2 separate regions of the Homo sapiens genome follow, and region 1 is linked to region 2. Evidence: promoter capture Hi-C in 16 types of primary human blood cells and fetal thymus (Javierre and others, 2016). All regions are on one chromosome and are shown on one strand. The core of a region is centred on a gene start or on the middle of the fragment in contact, and the rest is flanking DNA. Distances in the headings are between cores, read along the strand shown.

The links. The method cuts DNA at HindIII sites, captures the fragments that hold promoters and counts their contacts. A CHiCAGO score of 5 or more calls a contact.
Region 1: a contact is called between a fragment that was not itself captured here and the fragment with the promoter of CCNQ in region 2, in 2 of 17 cell types (M2 macrophages and M1 macrophages). The highest score is 6.7, in M2 macrophages.

The regions. Positions count from the first base shown.
Region 1 is chrX:153,008,042-153,014,201 of GRCh38, forward strand. No RefSeq gene overlaps it. Among named protein-coding and RNA genes, the nearest start is that of PNMA5, 17 kb to the left of the region's middle. The HindIII fragment of the contact is 1,156 bases long and covers 2,887-4,042 here.
Region 2 is chrX:153,595,780-153,601,924 of GRCh38, forward strand. It overlaps CCNQ (cyclin Q), which reads right to left and starts at 3,360. Exons shown (of 5, transcript NM_152274.5): 1 at 3,183-3,360; 2 at 225-408. The coding sequence starts at 3,294. LOC105373383 (a long non-coding RNA gene) reads left to right here and starts at 3,561. Exons shown (of 1, transcript NR_131982.1): 1 at 3,561-4,114. RefSeq lists silencers at 3,071-3,430, 3,441-3,490, 3,591-3,730 and enhancers at 4,871-5,372, 5,373-5,872. The HindIII fragment of the contact is 8,000 bases long and covers 2,072-6,145 here.

The DNA of each region.
Region 1 (6,160 bases), core at 2,215-4,714, 590 kb before region 2:
GCTAGCATGTCTCTGGTCAAGGAGGAGTTTGGATGTTTCTTGTTGGAGATGTTATTTGTGTTTTATGGTCATGCTGACATTAGCCATTAGGCTGATGCCCTTTAGATTTAGGCAGCTTTTTTATTAAGGTGAACATTAGAATGAGGAGCTTGTTCAAGATGGCGATGCTCCTGCTCTGTCAGCAATCATACATTGCCTGAGCCACGAAAAATCAAACTGTTTAATATCTCATGGAAATCAAATAAAGCAGACCAGTTAGCAGCCTGGACCAAAACTTCCACTATTATGGCCCTAGTCTCACAGATTGACTTGACCCTGTTTTGTCCAACATATTCTCTGGAAGGTTTAAGAGGAACCCAAGGGTAGGGTTTCAGTGTAGTGGTCCTAAAACCCAACTCCTGGTTTATAAGCCAGCAAGGAACAGTACTGATCCCTGATATTTTTTTTCTTTTTTTTTGAGACAGAGTCTCACTCTGTCACCCAGGCTGGAGTTCAGTGGCACAATCACAGCTCACTGCAGCCTCAACCTCCCCAGGCTCAGGTGTTCCTTCCACCTCAGCTTCTCAAGTAGCTGGAACTACAGGCATGTACCACCACGCCTAGCTAACTTTTGTGTTTTAAAAAAAAATTTTTTTTACAGACAGGGTTTTGCCATTTTGCCCAGGCTGGTCTCAAACTTCTTGGGCTCAAGCTATTTGCCCACCTCGGCCTCCCAAAGTGCTGGGATTACAGGCGTGAGCCACCATGTCCAGCTCTGATCCTTGAGATTTTAATGGAAAAAATAATTAGTTTGCTTCATCTGAGTACCCACTATGGAAGGGATGCCACACTTAGGTGGATTCAGAATTGCATCATAGGTCCTAATATGCAAAAGATTATATAGAAGGTCATATAGAAATGTTTAATCTGTTCCAAGAATAATCCAAAATCGGGTTCATCCACACCAAAGGGAATACATGCAAGAGGCAATGGGCTAGGAGAAAATTGGCAAACAGATTTTACTGTAATGCCAAGAGCCAAAGGGAATTTTAGATAGTTGTTAGTAATACATTTATTTATTTATTGGATAGGTGGAAGGCTTTTCCTGCCACACTGAGAGGGCTTCAGAAATAGTAAGAATCTTAATGGAGGAAATTATCCTCAGATTTGGGTTGCAATTCACCATCCAGAGCGATAATAGGAGTGCCTTTATTGCCAAGATAACCTAGGAGGTGTCCAAACAGCTGGAAATTAAATTACATGCCTCTTGGCAACCCTAGTCCATTGGAAAGACTGAAAAGATGAACCACACCCTAAAAAAAACACTGTTGCAAAAATTCGTCAGGAAACAAATCGGACATGGGACAAGGTATTGCCAGTTGCACTGCTTAGGATTAGAGTGGCCCCTAGAAGCGGGCTTCAATTAAGCCCTTATGAAATCTTGTATGGGAGACCCTGTCTATATTCTGAGCCACAAGGTAAACAGATAAGTGATTTAAAAATCAAAGAGTTGGACACTGTCAGGTATGTACAATCTTTGGATCTATCTTTAAATGCTGATATGATTTGGATCTGTGTCCTCACCCAAATCTCATGTTGAATTGTAATTCTCAGTGTCAGAGGTGGGGCCTGGTGGGAGGTGATTGGATCATGAGGGTGGTTTTCTCATGAATGGTTTAGCCTCATGGCCCTTGGAACTGTCCTTGTGATAGTGAATTTTTGCACTATCTGGTTGTTTAAAAGTGTGTGGCATATAGCATATGTTACTTGCTATATCATTCTAATTGCCCCTCTAGGAACCAGTAAACATGATTTCTGTTTCACATAGAGACATAACTCTATGGTTAGATTTTCCTAATCTCTGGCCTCTTCAGTAAATTTAACTGATTGTCGTGTATGTCATCCCAAACTGTTTTGGTTTCATGACCATACTGATCCTTTAATCATGCCTGTAACTAACTTTACAGCTGTTCCCAATTTTACCATAGAATATAATGAAAGGCCCTCTTGAGTGACCTATCAAGCAAACGGAGCAATCCTGGACCCTACATCTTCAGTTCCCTGCTTCTTTCTAACTCCTTTGTGGAGGGGTGTGGGATTTGCTCTATACTCTAAGGTTATGAACTGTTCTGAGCCTATTGATTTCACCATAATTAACCAATGGTTTAATTTCTTCTTTTCTTTTTAAATGAAGGCAAGTTTATTAGAAAAGTAAAAGAATAAAAGAATTGCTACTCCACAGACAGAGCAGCCCCAAGGGCTGCTGGTTGCTCATTTTTATGGTTATTTCTTGATGATATGCTAAACAAGGAGTGAATTATTCATGCCTCCCCTTTTTAGACCATATAGGGTAACTTCCTGACATCACCATGGCATTTGTAAACTGTCATGGCGCTGGCAGGAGTGTAGCAGTGAGAATGACCAGAAGTCACTCTCATCACCATCTTGTTTTTGGTGGGTTTGGGCCAGCTTCTTTACTGCAACCTGTTTTATCAGCAAGGTCTTTATGACCTGTATCTTGTGCTGACCTCCTGTCTCATCCTGTGACTTAGAATGTTTAACCATCTGGGAATGCAGCCCAGTAGGTCTCAGCCTCATTTTACCCAGCCCCTATTCAAGATGGAGTTGTTTTGGTTCAAATGCCTCTGACATTTCCCTGCTCCCTTTTACAAGAGAACCCTTAATCCTAAGGGTTGCAAAGGGATGAAAATCCATCTTCTGTAACTTCTTTATGCTGAACAGGGGAGATGATATTCCTACCTAACTACTGGGTCTCTTGCATTCAGGGTAGAGAGGAGTTCGGTTAGAAAGTGTCGGTATGTTGAAGGCCATTCATAACTCTTGAGTTTCAACAAAAGGTGATATCTGGAAGATTAATAAGTGTTCAGTTTAGGGAAACATTCAGTAAGCTTGTCCTGCATTCCTACACAAAGACTATAACAGCAATATATTCAACAACAGGAAAGCAAAATAAGTAAAATTATCTCTAGTAAATTAAATTAGAAAAGGCTTTCCATGAACTGGACAATTGTTGGAACCAAGTTGATATGGGGTTGCTAGCCCATCCCAATATGTGCCCAGAATTAGAATACAGATCCAGATTTTTACATCACCCATCCCTCTTCTTTCTTCTGAATAGCAGTCAGAGGTCACTGGTTTGTTCACAGGAATAAGCAGGGTTAGTCTAAATTGAAGAAAAAAGTCCCAGAACAACTGATGAGACTAGAATCTATTAACATGTGTACCACAGTGTTCGAAAGAGTTTTTCTATCTCCAGTCTCCCATTTTTATTAAAAACAAATCATGGTAAGACCAATTTACTTTCTTATACTTGGCCTGATCATTCATATAAAGTGCAGCAAGAATAATTATTTTTAAATTAGCTTTGATGGAACTCTGTTCCATCGAAAGAATCTCAGATAAGACTTTTTTTCCATTTTTTTTTGACAGAGTCTCGCTCTGTCACCCAGGCTGGAGTGCAGTGGCATGATCTTGGCTCACTGCAACCTCCCCTCCCGGGTTCAAGCAATTCTCCGCCTCAGCCTCCCAAGTAGCTGGGATTACAGGTGCCTGCCACCACACCCAGCTAATTTTTTGTATTTTTAGTAGAGATGGGGTTTCACCATCTTGGCCAGGCAGGTCTTGAACTCCTGACCCCGTGATCTACCCGCCTCCGCCTCTGCCTCCAAAAGTGCTGGGATTATAGGCGTGAGCCCTGAAGACTTTTTTTTTTTTTAAAGCCAAGCCCAGCTGTGGGTTTATACTCTCAAATACTTACGAGTTGGGTAAATTCCTCTTCTCTTGAGGTCCTAAGATAACTGGGGGCACCTGGGCCTGTGAGAAAGTGACATGCTTTACTTACCACGGGTCAGGAACCCTGTACAGGGACTGTATAGACAACCTATGAGGCCAGTTTTCCCAAGGGGCTTTTATTGGCTCTATAAGTCAAGTTTTTTTCCTTAAAGGAAAGCACCCTATTCTCGTCAAAGCCTTGGTAAAATAACCAGTTTCCCCATATGCTCCAAATTGTGTTCATAGGTGTATACTTTACTTAATTGTTAAAAGCTTTAAATAGCTCAAAAGTTTCCTTGACTCTGGAAAACAAAACAAAGGATCAGCAACATTTTAAGCAAACAGCCAAGATTACTTCAAACTTCTATTAGCGCAATACATGCAGTTAGCTCCTGTCCTGTTTGATATTCATGAACATTTCAGCTGTCCATGAGTCCTGAAAGTTTTTCCTCTATCTGAATGTCACACTCTCCAAAGTTATCAGAAAACCTGCATTTAATAACACTTGTTAGGGTTCTATAGGTGATTATAAAACCACCTTCTGAAGAGTATTAAAACAAGATAACAATTGTCTGTGGATGACAAAATTTTAGGACAGCCACTATTAAAGCCACAATGGACAAAAAAATTTTGATTACCTCTGTGGTATACAACAATTTTACATAGCAATTATAACTATTGATAACACACACTAAGTTATATCAGAATTATAGGAGCTTCCATAATTTTGGAATACATGCCAATAACATATTTATACAAACACAGCCCAAAGAAGGCCAAACACCATTTCATATTTGACAATGCTTCCTGTATGACTTTTATACCAAATAAGCCAAAAGTCACTTTTGGACTTTAGGTGACCTAATATCTAAAAGATTAATTAGGTCAGAAAAAGACATATTTTATAATTTGATTTTGGGAAGCTTGTCAAATATCAAAGGTTTAAAACACTAGATATCACAAAATAGAATCCCAGGTGACCATAAGTCATTCATTTTGCCAAAATAATAACTTAAAAAATTTTTAAAAGGCAAAACCCCTTACTCATGAAGAGGGAAGACCTAGCTTTCCAAACAATGTCTCTTTTCTTTCCCCTCTTTTCCTGTAGTTTATTTAAAAGGCAAACAAAAATCTTTCATTATTTTTTAATAAAACATGAAAATCCTGTTCAAGAGAGAAAGCCACATTTCACCCTTTCCATTAATGCACTATTGATGTTAAACCCAATTCTTAATAAAACCTTATACACAAATCTATCCAATTTTAAAGTCTCATCATAAAGTAAGATTCTTATAAACCCTTGAAAAATTTTTGTTAAAGAGCAGATGAGTGCTTTATGAAAAGCCTGTTGTGCTTTTATTCCAATGTTCAATTTACAGAAAAACTGAATACCCTTTAATGTTAGCCAATATGTTCACACACAGAATTTCTTTTACAAGATTAATTTTTCACAAACCTTCCACAACTTGCTCAAATCTTCAGCTTTTTCCTACCTAACTTAAAACAATCCTTTAACCTTCTAAAAAAAATCCACATTCTCATGCCTTCTTTTAATCTTTTACCAAAAACACATTTCACTTTCCTTACACACCTTGCTTGTAAAACTGTTTTTATTTCCCCAAAATTACTAAAGTAATGTGAACTAAAAGGCATTATGCTTTTTATTTTTCTGATAAAATATTTAAGCACTATTTTTAAGCCAATTAATCAAAGCTCTTTCATAAACATCACACACACAACACATATAAATACACAGACAGAAGAATAACCAGTAGTTGTTAAGATTTTTCATTTGCCAGTTTCTTAAGTTTCTTTTAAAAGATGCAGTTTGTAGGGCCTATTAAGCAGGCACAGCTGAAAGGCAAAAACAGATTCCCCAAAATTAAGGTCCCATTTTTATACCAGATCCTGGATCCCAAAAAGAGGGAATTAGCCCATCTCCCATGGGACCCTTATCTCTCAGTGGGGGAATATCTCCATACCTTCCAGGTGGCCAGGAGCATGCTTTTCTAATCCAAACATGCAAAGAGCCACATATTGCCTCATGACTGCCATTAGCCATCCATAAAAGTATATTTCCTACCTTGTTATTACACAGCAAAGCTCTCTTATAATGTGAAGTAATTTCTGATACCTCAAAAAGTAAAAAACGTCAGATAATGCAATGCAAAACAGAACAGAACCTTAGATTTGGAAAGGGATCTATCTGCTTTCAATTCCTTGGGTTTTACAAAGAAAACAGAGGAGGTTTTTTCCCAAAACAGGGTCTGTGGCACCTCCTCTGTTTTTCCTCAAGAAGTCCAGGCTATTAGAGCTTGAATATCCGCTTTTAATTAAGCTGACTTTTAACCATAATGCTCTTTTTAAAAAGTTCTTTTAAATTTCTTAT
Region 2 (6,145 bases), core at 2,110-4,609:
CCATAATCTGGCCCAGCGTTTCTCTCACAGACCCCACTGGCCTCTGACATCAGGCTCCTTCTCACGTTTGCTGCTACTGTTTCTGGCCCTGCCTGGTTCAAGGCCATCCAGGTACTTCCTTCCAAGCTCCATTGCTGGCACCTGGTGGGCAGGGCCCCATAGGAGCCTTCCCTGCCCGTCCCCCCCACCGGGTGGAGATCAGGAGCCCAGCCAAATGCCATTACCTGTTGGACACATTGATGATGTCACGAGTCCGCAGGTGCTGCTCTTCCACTTTGCCGGCCAAGTAAATTGAAGACATGGCAATCAGGTAAGGGTCATAGGCGTCCAGGTTGGTCTCGCAAAAGAACTTATGGTAAATGGTGCAAGCAGTGGCAATGGGAATGGACCGCATCCCTAGCTTGACACCTGCGGAGAGAAAGCAGGCAAGAGAGGACTTCAATCCAGCGCTGGCTCACTGCTCCAGTGAGGGGAGCCATTGGAATGGGCCCTAGCAGGTACAACCCTACTTGGACAAGGCTAAGAACTTCCAGCAGAGCCAGTGGCTCCTGCTGGGTCTCTTACTGGGCTCTCAGACTCTAGTGGGTGACCCAAGCCCCTGGGGATGGTGTTCAAATGCAGACTTCCCCTTTTGTAGGTCTGCGGCTCTGAGATTCTCCACTTCTGACAAGCCCCAGGTCATGCCCATGTCAGGGGTCTATAGACCACGCTCTGGGAAACAAGGGTTCCGAGGACCGCTCAGTTAGCAACTGGCATAGCAGCTTCTGCAAAACCCTGGAAAAGGACTATATGCTGTTGTGTGTCTGGGTTCACCTTAGCAAACAGCTAGCTAGAAGTCGCCCACCCCACAGCTACGACGACAGAAAAGAAACGGCCTCGTGGGTGCCACAAGTCCTGAAGTCACAGTGAAAGATTACACTGAGCACTGGTTTCGTAGTCCACAGGTTAGAAGAGGTGAGCAAAGCAAGCAGCGTGACTGCCAAGAGTAACCACTTGCATTGCAGAGAAAAGGCAATGTTTATGGCCACAGCCAGGCACCAGGGAAGGACACCAGCACATTGAAAAGTGGGCTGGGCATGCTGGTTTACGCCTGTAATCCCAGCACTTTGGGAGGCTGAGGCAGAAGGATTGCTTGAGCCCAGGAATTCGAGACCAGCCTAGGCAACAGAGTGAGACCCTGTCTCTACAAAAAAGAGAAAGAAAAAAATTTTTAAGGTGAACAAAACTCAAAACACCAGAGCAGGATTCAGTGGATTCTACTTAGGGGTTAAAGCCCATCCCCAGCCCATCCCTGAATGGCTCCTAAGAAAATCACTGCCCTGGTGCACAGAACCAAAACAAATTCACAACCACCAGGGTTCACAAGACAAGGTTAAATGACATCCACTAGGCCAAAACAGAAAGGCGAAGAACAACCGACAATCAACCATGAAATGACAGTCAGCATCCTCTGCCTAAGAAGGTAGATCAGTTCCCTAGGGCTACTGCAACAAATCACCACAAATTCAGCCACTTAAACAACACACATTTATACTCCTCCGATCCTGGAAGTCAGAAGTCCAAAACTAGCCTAGAAAGCTAAGATCAACGTCTAAGCAGGGCTGGCTCCTTCTGGAGGCTCCATGGGAGAATGTTTCCTTGCCTTTTCCAGCTTCTAGAGGAGGGCTGCATTCCTTGGTTGCTGGCCCCTTCCTCCATCTTCAAAGCTTCTAACTCTGCTTCTGTCCTCACGTGGCCTTCTCTGACGGTGACTCCTCCTGCCTTTGCCTTATAAGGATGGGTGTGGTTACACCCAGATAATCTAGGATGATCTCCCATCTTAAGGTCTCTAATCACATCTTCAAAATCTCTTTTGCTATATAAGATGACATTCACAGGTTCCAGGGATTAGGATAGGGACATCTTTGGGAAATCAATATTTAGCCTCCTACAAAGGACAAAGGATTGTGTAATACATTTTATAAAGAAGTCCCTCAGAAGGTCTAAACTTGTTATATAAAGACAATTCCTACCTGGGACCCCTCATTCCAGGAGATGCCAGATAAGGTGCTGTTACTGACATGACCTTCCAAGCTTTGTTTTACAGAGCAAACCCCAATTTACACGGACCCTCCGAGCAGACGGTAGCAGATGAGGTGTCACTGCCATCCTTCCCTAATAATAACTTTGCAACTCTTCTTGCAAATTACAGTAAATTTACATATCACTGGGATGAACAGTCCTGCAGCAGTCCTCAGACTCTCCGCCCACCTTGGGTAGAAAGCACATCTGCCCAACCCTTCTCCCCCAAGCAGTAAAGGTAGGAAATAACTACCCGCCAACTAACAGTATCTCCTATCAAGATACTGTTGATGGGCCGGACGAGGTAGCTCACGCCTGTAATCCCAGCACTTTGGGAGGGCGAGGCAACTGGATCACCTGAGGCCAGGAGTTCAAGACCAGCCTGGCCAACATGGTGAAACCCCGTCTCTACTAAAAATACAAACATTAGCCGGGTACGGTGGCACACACCTGTAATTCCAGCTACTCGGAAGCGTGAGGAAGGATAATTGCTTTAGTCCGGGAGACGGAGGTTGCAGTGAGCCGAGATCACGCCACTGCACTCCAGCCTGGCCAACAGAGCGAGACTCCGTCTCGAAAAAAAAAAAAATACTGTTGATGGCTGGATGGAAACGATGTTTCTACAGAGATCTTAGCTTAATCACCTCGCCTGGGAAGCGCGGAGCCCAACACTACTGTGGATGTCCTGGCAGGGTTCGGAACAGGAGCTGCAAGCAGCCTAGGTCCCCGGAGTGACAGGAACCCTCGGACAGCGTTCTCCAAAAGGCTCCGCGCGACTAAGCGCCATAAAGTCTACCGGAGTGCAGGGCCGCGGGTGCCGGCAGAAGGCGTGGCGCACTGCGCAGAGCTGCGGGCGCCCGGGCCGGTCTCCGCCTCGCTGGAGGCCCAACCCGGCCACGTCCTCTCCTAGGGCCTGCACACCGGTCCACGCCATGGGGATACCTCGCGGCTCACTGCTCAGCACACCGGGCGCGGCGCAAAGGCGGAGGTCCTCAGCCCCGAGCAGGGCTTCCCGGCCTCTGCTACGGTGAGCACTCCAGAAGGCCGGCCTGGCCAGCCGGGCCCGCTCCGCGAAGCGGGCCGCGGCGCCGCCTGTCCTGGCCTCCCCCGGCCGCGGTTACCTGCCTCCATGATGAACCTCGCCACTCGGAAGTGCACCCTGGCTTCGGGCGCCGGCTGCCCCTCCGGGCCCCGCGCTGCAGGCCCCCCTCCGCCGCCCTCCGGGGCTTCCATGAGGCGCCGCGGCACCGGCGGAAGGAGAGGCGGCCCCGGCGCGCAGAAGCCGGCAGAACTGGAGGTGCTCGCGGCGGGCGCTGCCGCCCCACCCGGCCGCGTCCGGCCCCGCCCCGCCCCGCCCCTCGCCGCCCCGCCCCGCCCCTCGCCGCCCCGCCCCGCCCCTCGCCGCCCCGCCGCTCCTCCGCCCCGCCCCGCCCCTCAGGGCCCTCGCCCAAGGGTGAGCGCGCGCTTGCGCCACAGACGCTGCCTGGCCGCGCGCGCAGGCGCAGGCGCAGGCGCAGAGGCCGACACCACGGGGCGGCTGGTATGTGTCCACCGGCCCCTAGGCGCCTCGAGCCCCGCCCCTGGGAGACGCAGGCTCCTCCCCGCGGAGCGAGAGCCCGCGGAGCTGCTCCGAGACCCGCGGGAGGGCACCTCCGGTCACCCGAGCCGCAAATCCCCGCCGTCCGAAGGGGGTGTCGCCCCGGGCTGTCGGCCCAGCGTGGCTTAGGCCAGGTACAACCGGCAGCGCCCGCCAAGCCCTGGGCTAGGGACGCCTGCGGGAGTTCACGGGGAGGCGCCGGTGTCTGAGGTCTGAGAAGACAGCGGCCACCGGAAAAGGTGCTAATGTTTGCAGACCCCGATCCATCGACACCCCAAGGAAATGCTGTGCACAAAATTCCAAGAGGGCCTTTTCGAATAGACGCATGAACGGTGTTTGTGTCTGGATCGTCCAGCCTCCCGGGATCGATTGGGAATCTAGCTTCTGCTTGCCTTTCCAGCGCGACGCACAGTAGGAGCCTAATAAATGTTTGCTGAATGAATGCTGAATATCGAACTCAGGTATTTACCATCTCATTTTTCATTCGCGTCTTCCACAAGCAGGAAATGGTGCATCAGGCTTTAGGGACATAGAACCCCAAAGGTACTCACTCCCAAGTTAGTGACAGTCACTGGAGTCATTCTGATACATTCAGATCATTGCTACAATTTCAGACAGCTGGCAATATGGAGAGGAAAAAGCTACTGCTCCCTAAACCCTTCTGCCCAGGCGCCTTGATCTCCTGATGGTGTGGAAGTCTCCACCTCTTACCCCCACCCCACACACCCAGTCCGGCCTCATTCTCCTTCCTCAGCACTTCCTGCCTCCACCAGCCTCCCCAAGTCCTCTCTCCATCCCAGCTGGGTTAGTTTCCTGGGGCTGCTGTAACAAATGACCACAAATTGGGTTGCTAAAAACAGCAGAAGTATATCCTCTCTCAATTCTGGAGGCCAGACACCTGAAATGGAGGTGACACTAGGGCTTTGCTCCCTCAAAGGCTCTGGCAGAGGATCAGTTCTTCCTTGCTCTTCCAGCTTCTGCAGCCTGAGTTCTTCCTGGGCTTGTGGCCCCATCACTCCAATCTGTGCCTCCGTCTCTACATGGCCTTCTCCCTGTCTTCTCGTCTGTCTCTTATAAGCACACCTGTCACTGGATTAGGGCCTACCTAGATAATCCAGGAGGAGCTCATCTTGACATCCTTATTTTCATTACATCTTGCAAAGGCCCTTCTGCTAAATAAGGTCACAGTAACAGGGATTAGGACACGGACACACCTTTTGGGGGCTGGCATTCACCCCACAATACCAGCCGCCAGAGCGAGCTTTCTAAAAGGCGAGGCTGAACAGGTCCTGCCCTGCCTAACACCCTCCGGAGTCCCTTCACCTTCAGGAGAAAATGTGAGGCCTTGACCTCACATGCTGGTCCTTGTGGAGTCACCCTATCAACTGACCAGCCTCGGATCTCACCACTTTGCCTCATGGCAGAGACCTTCGGCAGGTCCCCCAAAGGTTATGGTCTCCTGGCTGAACGTCTCTGCACGTATTCTGCCTGGTGAAGGAATTACCACTCCACTTCCATCACCCAGCTTGCTCTTGTCTGTATGTGCGCGGGTGTGCACGTGTGTGTGCATATGTGTGCGTGTGTGGACTGACTCAGGGTCCCCAGCTCCCTGTGCTGCTGACACCTGCCACGCCTTGAGCACCGTGTCTGTCTGCAAGCTGTGAGCAGCCCCACCCTCTTCCCCAGCCCAAGGCTGAAACCTAGGCAATGCCCAGAGGGCCCACCTCCCCTCAGCCCCGTTGGTGGAGGCCAGGTCCTGTGTTCCCCCAGACAGTGCCCTGGGCTGGACCAGCCACAGCTAGATCTGGAAGGCTCAAGCCCATGTTCCCTAAAGCAGCTATGGGCCTTGGGGGATCAGGCTGCTGCCTCTCAGCTTCCCCCACCACCACATCTGTGCACACTAACACACACCCCCATGCACACGCACACACATGCATCACACATCCCCCCCCCACATACACACATGCACACGTGCACATATGTGAACACCCCAATTCAAACAGTGCTTCCCTCTGGCCCCTGGTGGCCCGCCCATCCTCTAGGCACAACTCCTCCTTCTCCTCTGGGCCTTATGTGCTGAAAAGAGTCCGGGCTCAGCAAGTAAAAGGTGCCTGGGAATGTGAGCCGAGAGAATGACTCAATGAACACATGAATTTTAAAGCCCTGGGTCACCTCGGCGCAGTGGTTGATGAATGAATAATTCACTAGCCACCAACTGGAGCCAGCAAACCTTTAGGCAGCACCTCCTCTCCCACTGGCAAGCCTGTCCCCAGTGTCCCAAAGGTGGCATCCCCCGTCTCATCACCCCGGCTCAGATGGTGAGTTCCTTGAGGGCTGAAGCCTGGTTCTCAACCCCAGGCTCGACCCTGAGGTTGACAGTCACCATCAGAAGCGCGATTCTGTAATATTTGCCAACGCTTCCTTAGCTAATCCTCACCATGTGCCCATACATTGATTAAATCACAGCCTACCCCTCACAATAGCACT